2 separate regions of the Homo sapiens genome follow, and region 1 is linked to region 2. Evidence: promoter capture Hi-C in human tissues and cell types (Jung and others, 2019). All regions are on one chromosome and are shown on one strand. The core of a region is centred on a gene start or on the middle of the fragment in contact, and the rest is flanking DNA. Distances in the headings are between cores, read along the strand shown. Region 1 overlaps PRR12 (proline rich 12). Region 2 holds the start of ADM5 (adrenomedullin 5 (putative)).

Region 1 (4,069 bases), core at 1,118-3,617, 64 kb before region 2:
TTGGTAATCCCAGCACTCTAGGAGGCTAAGGGAGGTGGATCACGAGGTCAGGAGACCAATAACAACCCATCCTGGCTAACATGGTGAAACCCCGTCTCTACTAAAAATACACAAAAAATTAGCCGGGTGTGGTGGTGGGTGCCTGTAGTCCCAGCTACTCGCGAGGCTGAGGCAGAATAATGGTGTGAACCCGGGAGGCGGAGCTTGCAGTGAGCCAAGGTCGCGCCACTGCACTCCAGCCTGGGCGACAGAGCGAGACTTTGTCTTAAAAAAAAAAAAAAAAGAATTCTGGGGTAGATGGGATGGTTAGGATAGGGCTGAGAATTCTGGGATAGATGGTTAGGATGGGGCCAATAATTCTGGGATAGATGGTTAGGATGGGGCCGAGAATTCTGGGGTAGGTGGTTAGGATGGGGCCGAGAATTCTGGGGTAGATGGTTAGGATGGGGCTGGGAATTCTGGGATAGCTGGTTAGGATGGGGCTGGGAATTCTGGGGTAGGTGGTTAGGATGGGGCTGGGAATTCTGGGATAGCTGGTTAGGATGGGGCTGGGAATTCTGGGGTAGGTGGTTAGGATGGGGCTGGGAATTCTGGGGTGGGTGGTTAGGATGGGGCCAGGAATTCTGGGGTGGGTGGTTAGGATGAGACCGAGAATTCTGGGGTAGGTGGTTAGGATGGGACTGAGAATTCTGAGGTAGGTGGTTAGGATGGGGCCAAGAATTCTGGGGTAGGTGGTTAGGATGGGACCGAGAATTCTGGGGTAGGTGGTTAGGATGGGACCGAGAATTCTGGGGTAGGTGGTTACGATGGGGCTGAGAATTCTGGGATAGGATAGGTGGTTAGGATGAGACTGAGAATTCTGGGGTAGGTGGTTAGGATGGGGCCGAGCATTCAGGGATAGGTGGTTAGGATGGGGCTGAGAATTCTGGGGTAGGTGGTTAGGATGGTGCTGAGAATTCTGGGGTAGGTGGTTAGGATGGTGCTGAGAATTCTGGGATAGGTGGTTAGGATGGGGCTGAGAATTCTGGGATAGATAGTTAGGATGGGGCTGAGAATTCTGGGGTAGGTGGTTAGGATGGTGCTGAAAATTTTGGGGTAGGTGGTTAGGATGGGGCTGGGAATTCTGGGGTAGGTGGTTAGGATGGGGCTGAGAATTCTGGGATAGATGGTTAGGATGGGGCTGGGAATTCTGGGATAGATGGTTAGGATGGGGCTGGGAATTCTGGGGTAGATGGTTAGGATGGGGCTGGGAATTCTGGGGTAGAATTTTGGGTGACATTGAGAATCTGAGCCAGGCCAGAAGGCACAGTGGAAGCATCACTGGTCAGGCCCAGCCTCCTCTGTCCTTTGAGGAGACTCTAGTTGTCTCTCCTGATCTGCAGCCTGGGGGAAACTGAGGCACAGATCTGAGACCTGGCTGTTGGGTTTGGGGTTTATGGATCCAGGGCAGCATCCAGCTGACCCATTGGCTTCCCGCAGGATGCTCTGCACACGTTCCCACAGCTGCAAGTGGAGCAGAGTGGGGAGGGCTCTCCGGAAGAGGGGGCTGTGCGGCTGCGGCCTGCTGGGGAACCCTACAACCGCAAGACGCTCAGCAAGCTCAAGAGGAGCGTGGTCAGAGCCCAGGTGGGCACTGGGGCTGGGGCTGGGAGTGGGGAGTGCTGGCGGTATGTGGGAAGGGAGGAGAGGGGCTGCCAAGTGCCGGGCTGGAGGGGCTGAGGCATCTCCACTCCTACCCAGGAGTTCAAGGTTGAGCTGGAAAAGTCGGGATACTATACACTCTACCATTCGCTCCACCACTATAAATACCACACCTTCCTGCGCTGCCGGGACCAGGTGAGCCCCACCCACAGCACCCATCGCCCTGGGATTCCAACCTTTCTGACTTCCTCTTGGGATCTGAGGGTCCAAGCCCAGCCCCATCCTGCCTCAGACCCAAGAGTTCAGGTCCTTCTGTCTTGGACTTAAGAATGCAGCCCCCAGCCCTGGTCTCCCTGGGACACTGACATCTGACACCCCAGGCCCCATGCCCCAGCCCCTTCCCTCCCCAGAGGCCGGTGTGCCACCCTCCCCAGTGCCATGTTTGACCCCTGCAGACCCTGGCCATCGAGGGCGGCGCCGAGGACCTGGGCCAGGAGGAGGTGGTCCAGCAGTGCATGCGGAACCAGCCGTGGCTGGAACAGCTCTTTGACTCCTTCAGTGACCTGCTGGCCCAAGCACAGGCCCACAGCCGCTGCGGGTGACCCCGCCCCAGCTTGTGAGGGGGGCGCCTCCTCCATGAACCGAGAATTGGGACAGAACCGTGTCCTCAGGAGCTAACACCTGGGCTCCATCGCCGGGGAAAGGGGGTCATGGGTCAGGGTGTGTCTGTGCTGCCCCCTCCAGGGCAGGGTTCAAAGTCCGACTCCCCCCCTCTCCCAAGCCCCCTCCACTCCCTCCCCATTCCTCCCACTGTTCGGTGTACAGAGAAATTATTTATATATATGTATAAATGTCTATTTAGTAACGGTTTCCCTCTCCCCTTGCCCCGACCCCCCCTCCACAGCCACAGCCCCCGCCCCCTCCACCTTGTACATAATGTATAGGAAAAGTCTATGTATGGCTGGGGGGGGTGGGGTGGCTTCAGAGAGCTGGGGGACCCCTTCCCCCCAAGTCCCCCCTGCAGGCCAAGATCTTTGCTAAAGGCCATTCCCTCCGCAGGGCATTTGGCGTCGGGTGGGAGGGGAAAACGCATCTTGTTAATTATTTTTAATCTTATTTATTGTACATACCTGGGGCAGGGGCTTGGGGAGGTGGAGGGGGGAGAAGGGTCCCCTCTCTCTGCCCCTCCCACTCCTTTTCTACGGCGATTTGTCTGTGTCTGGCCCCCACCCACTGCCCATCCCCCATTGTTGTCTGGATGTGGTTCTATTTTTTATCGGTCTCCTTTCCCCTCCTCCCCGTTCTCGCCCCCGCCCCACCCCCTGCTCCCACTACCCTTTGTCTCTTGCTCTTTCTTGGGCTTCTGTACAACTCAACTTGTATACACTGTGTACACACAACCAGCCAAACGAAAACCCAACGGCAAACACTTTACCGGCAGGCTGGAGTGCCTCTGTCCTGCGGCGCTGGAGTGGGTGGCAGTGGTAGCAGGGGCAGAGGTTCTGGAACGGGACTTTCCCAGAGCCCTGGGCAGTGGGGGGCCTGAGGCTGGCATATGTTCTGTGTCCCCGCACAGCAGAGTATCCCACCCTGAAATTTAATGACTTCAGACAACAAATATTTATCACTGGGGGGTTTCTTTTGTTTTTTAGCTAAAGACAGGGTCTCGCTCTGTCACCTAGGCTGGAGTGCAGTGGCATGATCATAGCTCACTGCAGCCTCCAACTCCCTGGCTCAAGCGATCCTCCTGCCTCAGCCTCCCAAAGTGACGGGATTACAGGCAAGTGCCACTGTGCCTGGCCCTGTGTTCTTTATGTTACCCAGGCTGGCCTTGAACTTCTGGGCTTAAAAGATCCTCCTGCCCCAGTCTCAAGTAGTTGGCATTACGGGTGCATGCCACTACACCCAGTTCAAATCCTGTAGTGTTTTGTTTTGGTTTTTTTTTTTGAGACAGAGTCTCGCTCTGTCACCCAGCCTGGAGTGCAGTGGTTCGATCTTGGCTCATGCAACCTCAGCCTCCCCGGTTCAAGCGATTCTCCTGCCTCAGCCTCCCAAGTAGCTGGGATTACAGGGGCCTACCACTACATCCAGCAAATTTTTGTATTTTTAGTAGAAACCAGGTTTCACCATGTCGGCCAGGCTGGTCTCGAACTCCTGACCTCAAGTGATCCGCCAGCCTCAGCCTTCCAAAGAGATTACAGGTGTGAGCCACTGCGCCCGGCCTCAAGTCCTGTATTCTTGAATCCAAGTGAGTGGTCCATGGTACAGCACTCTTGGAGTTCCCCAAGCACTTGTATAAATGTAGAATCGGCACAGGCAGCAGACGAGGAGAGGGCAGGTTGAATAGGGCTGTTTCTCCTCCTCCCACCCTTAAAGGAAAAGATGTAGAATCTCAGGCTGTTGCTCTGGTCTACTTGATCAGAACCCA
Region 2 (4,122 bases), core at 1,384-3,883:
GGGCCTGGGGACCCAGGCTGAAACCCTGCCCTCCTGGTGCTTCCACTCTAGACAAGGGGGTCAGTGACATGGTGATGCCAGTTGGAGGTGACCTCTGTCAGGCTGGGAGCAGGGCAGACAGGTGTTGGTGTAGGTGGGCTCCAGGGCAAGAGGCAGCCCCCAGTAGAGTGCACGGGGTTTTCTAGCCCAGCTGGGAGGCATGAGAGGAGAAAGGCAGCTTTTTGTTTTCTGCTCCCCTTTCTTTTTCCTCCTGAGCACTTGGCAGGAGCTGCCATCACCTGAGATCAGGGGGCTTCCGGGGGAGCTGGGGGGGCTTCTCGGAGACAGGGTCTGGGCAGAGATCCAGTGTGGTGGGTCTGAGCAGGCAGGAGGATGGAAGGCTTGGAGCCTGGAGTCGCCGGGAGTGGTCTGGGTTGGAAAAGTGGGTCCCGGCCGATGGGTGCGAGGGTGGGTGGCACTCAGGGTAGTCATGGAATGTGGACCCTGGGACACCCACGAGCCTGTGACAGCAGCAGTTGTCAACTGGGCAGTTTTACTGCCCCCTCCGCTCCCCGCCCCCCCCCAGGACGTTTGCCACCGTCTGTGGAAACATTTGTGGTTGTCACTCCGGAGAAGGGGTGGTCCTGGCATCTGGTAGGTAGGGGCCAGGGGGCTGGTAAATGTCCTGCAGCCACAGGACCACCCCCTACAAAGACTCATGCAGCCCCCGGGACCACGGCACTAGCTGGGAAACGGATACTGGAGAGGGAGGAGGAGTCCTCGGGCGTTGGTGACTTTGTCTCATCTTCATGTGCTGGAGGGTATGGGGGGAGGAGAGGAAGTGGAGACAGCAGGCTGGACCATTGTGTTTCACTGGAACGTTTGCCTGAGGAGGAAGTGGGCTTGGGAGAGGTTTTCTTTTTTATGAAAGAAGCAATCACTGCATTGCTGATGGGAATCATCCTGATGGAGAAATCCAAGGGCAAGGGACAGCAGCTGGGCTCTACTCCTGAGTGAGTCTAGTGGGCTTGGGGGTGTCCATGTGGTGCTGTCCCTTGGCAGGGTCAGGGCAGCTGCTAGGGTGGGACCAGCAGTTGGGGTCTGCAGCGTGGAGATGGGCAGGAAGCTGGAGCCCGGCTCATCGTCGCATAGCCTGCCTGCACCCGCCCCCCGCCACCACCTCCTGGTGGGTTCCGCCCTCATGCCCCACCTCTCCCTGCAGCGGGACCTGGACTTCACCATCGACCTGGACTTCAAGGGCCAGCTGTGCGAGCTGTCCTGCTCCACCGACTACCGGATGCGCTGAGGCCCGGCTCTCCCGCCCTGCACGAGCCCAGGGGCTGAGCGTTCCTAGGCGGTTTCGGGGCTCCCCCTTCCTCTCCCTCCCTCCCGCAGAAGGGGGTTTTAGGGGCCTGGGCTGGGGGGATGGGGAGGGCACATCGTGACTGTGTTTTTCATAACTTATGTTTTTATATGGTTGCATTTACGCCAATAAATCCTCAGCTGGGGTCTGGCTTTGTTTCCTGGGGGCAAAGGAGGTTTGGGGTTCCTTTCGCAGGTACTGCAGTGCCAGCCTCAGCAGTGGGGGGACCGGCCTTGGCACCTGCTGGTGGCTGCCATTCTGTGGATCTGCGTCTCCCGTCCCCCGTCTCTAGGCCTCTTGCTCCCCTTCCTTGGTTCCTTCTCGGGGTCCCTGTCCTCCACAGCTGTCTCTCAGGGTCTTTGTCCAACTCTTTTCATCCCTCTCCTGGGTCTGCGCCCCTCCCCTCTGCGGTACCCGTGTCCTGCCTAGTAGGGGATGGGGGTGGCTTTCCAGCACAGCCAGCCCTCAAGTTTCCCAGAACAGTCTCCCCACCTCCCCCCAACACTCGACATTGTTCCTCTCTGGCTGTTTTTTCCTGTTCGGGTCCCTTCAAGGCCCAACTGTGCCCAGCCCTCTGCAGCTGGGGACACTGAGTGGGTTGGGGGTGTATGTTTGCAAGGATAGAATTTCTCATGGGGGAGTGGCCCTGCTTCCTCCCCTAGAATGGCTTGGGGCTTAGGGCTGGGGACTTGCCCTCCATGGAGGTCAGTGGGAGTTGCAGCTGTAAGGTGGCAGGGCCTACCCATCTTACAGAGGTGAAGACGAGGTCCCTCTGCCTCTGCTGCAGACATGGCGTCTGCACCCACCCTTCCACCCTCAGGGCCTGGCCACGGGGTCCTGGGTCCCCCACAATACTGTGCACTCGACCTGGTTGACCCAGGACACCCTCCTCGTTGAACAGCCCTGGCTACACCTGCTTCAGTGCAACTGGAGCCCTCACCGGCGAGTGCCTGACACCTCGGCCTTTTCTCTTCCGGAGGGGCGCTCCTCAGTGTGTTTGGGGTCTCCCTCGCTCCACGCCCTCCAGGGGGCCGCATGTGCACTTGCCCTGCATTGCCTGGCCCCCGAGGTTCCAGGGTCCCAACTGTCTACTAACCGGCTTCCCGACAGGGTGAGGGTGAGGTCGCATCTACAACCAGAGCCAGCGCTTCCCCGCCGCCACCCCTTTTCTTGGAATCCCGCTGCTTAGCTACCTGCGGGTGTCATTGGCCCCGCCCCATTTCCCCACGCTTTGAAGGGGGCGAGTCTCCACAGACCTCCTAGGGGGATAGACAGCAGCTGGTGTGACCCCACACACCCAGTGAGGTCTCTGGAGCCGCGGTGCGGGAAGCGGGGACCCGGGTTTGAATCCTGCCCCTCTGGTGTGGTGCGGCCTCTTCCCACAGACTTTTGGCCTCAGTGTTCCCCGCCTGGGAAGTGGGGACTGGCCCTGGTACCTGGCTCCAGAGCTGCACCCAGAGGCGATCAGCCCGGTGCGGGAACGGGGCGGGGTGGCCGCAACTACGGGCCACGGATCCTGACCCGCCCTGCCCACGATGACTATCCACATCCTCATCCTGCTGTTGCTCCTCGCCTTCTCCGCCCAAGGGGACCTGGACACTGCAGCCAGGTGAGAAACCCGGGTGGCAGCAGGGACAGGGCGGGAGGGAGACCGTAAAGGGCGAGCGCCCTCTCCCGGCCGCGGAACGGGCAGGTGATCTGTAAGCCTCCCCGCTGGTCTTGGAGTGCTTGGGTGCCCACCTCCATCACGCTCCATCTCTCAATTCGGTTTGAACCCGGTTTTCTCCCACGCTCCCTCTCCAGGCGAGGCCAGCACCAGGTCCCCCAGCACCGCGGGCACGTCTGCTACCTGGGCGTATGCCGGACCCACCGCCTGGCGGAGATCATATACTGGATTCGCTGTCTCCACCAAGGAGCCCTCGGGGAAGGCCAGCCACGAGCCCCAGGACCCCTACAGCTATGGGCGCCGCCGGTGGCGCGAGGCGGAAGCCCGGCTCGGTTCCCAGGATTCCGGCCTGCAGCGAGGGGGCTAGCGCAGTGCCCAGCTCGCTGGGTGACCTCGGGCACGGCTCGTCCCCTCCTCGGCTTCAGTTTGCCTATCTGTATGTTGGAGCTTCTACTCCACATTTCTTCTCCCCTAACTCCAGCCCCTGAAACCGTCTTCCCCAGTCCCTCCCCGGGCTGCGACTAGGTTGGACCTAGAAGCACACGGGACCAGGCTGGGCGAAGAACACTGACGCCCAGAGCCGAATAAACAAGAGTTCCGTGTTTCAGTCTCTGCTTCTCTGTACCTATTTCGACCTCTCAGTCGAGGCTGGGTCTCTAATATACCTTTCTCTATTAGCCATGCTGCTTCTCCCTCACGGAAGTCCCACTGTCTACCTTGAATCCAACCCGCTGTGGCGCCTTTCTTGCCAACTCAATCCATGCACCTTCCGTGGGTGGTTTTGGCGGGCCGTCCTGACCCCCAAACATCCCTCCTCCCTCCCTGGCGTGAAAGGGCTGAGATTTGCTCCGGCACCCTACGCGCCTGACGTTATAATGCACCTGGGGTGGGCTGCGACCTCCCAGCTGAGCCTTGTTCCTCGAAGAGACAGGAGACTAAGAGACAATGAGCTGAGTGAGGAGCCCAGGAACCCGGGTTCCGAACAGCTGCGTAGAATGCGAGCGGCCAAATGGTGGAGAATCTGGCCGGGTAAAAGGAGACGGAGGACTGGGGATCGAACGGATGTAGGGGATTGGACGCCGTGGCTCGAAGGGGGCGGGGATAGAACGCGGGG

The links. The method cuts DNA at HindIII sites, captures the fragments that hold promoters and counts their contacts. A contact is called where the count stands out against the background at its distance.
Region 1: a fragment that was not itself captured here is called in contact with the fragment with the promoter of ADM5 in region 2 in 2 of the 25 tissues and cell types used here (spleen and stomach).

The regions. Positions count from the first base shown.
Region 1 is chr19:49,623,365-49,627,433 of GRCh38, forward strand. PRR12 (proline rich 12) reads left to right here. Exons shown (of 14, transcript NM_020719.3): 12 at 1,480-1,626; 13 at 1,741-1,836; 14 at 2,097-3,075. The coding sequence ends at 2,243. Among named protein-coding and RNA genes, the nearest start is that of RRAS, 15 kb to the right of the region's middle. The HindIII fragment of the contact is 9,568 bases long and covers 1-4,069 here.
Region 2 is chr19:49,686,961-49,691,082 of GRCh38, forward strand. ADM5 (adrenomedullin 5 (putative)) reads left to right here and starts at 2,634. Exons shown (of 2, transcript NM_001101340.2): 1 at 2,634-2,951; 2 at 3,146-3,615. The coding sequence starts at 2,878. The coding sequence ends at 3,533. It overlaps PRMT1 (protein arginine methyltransferase 1), which reads left to right. Exons shown (of 11, transcript NM_001536.6): 11 at 1,202-1,487. The coding sequence ends at 1,285. It also overlaps a transcript of CPT1C not described here. RefSeq lists enhancers at 233-974, 975-1,715 and a silencer at 3,024-3,093. The HindIII fragment of the contact is 11,781 bases long and covers 1,324-4,122 here.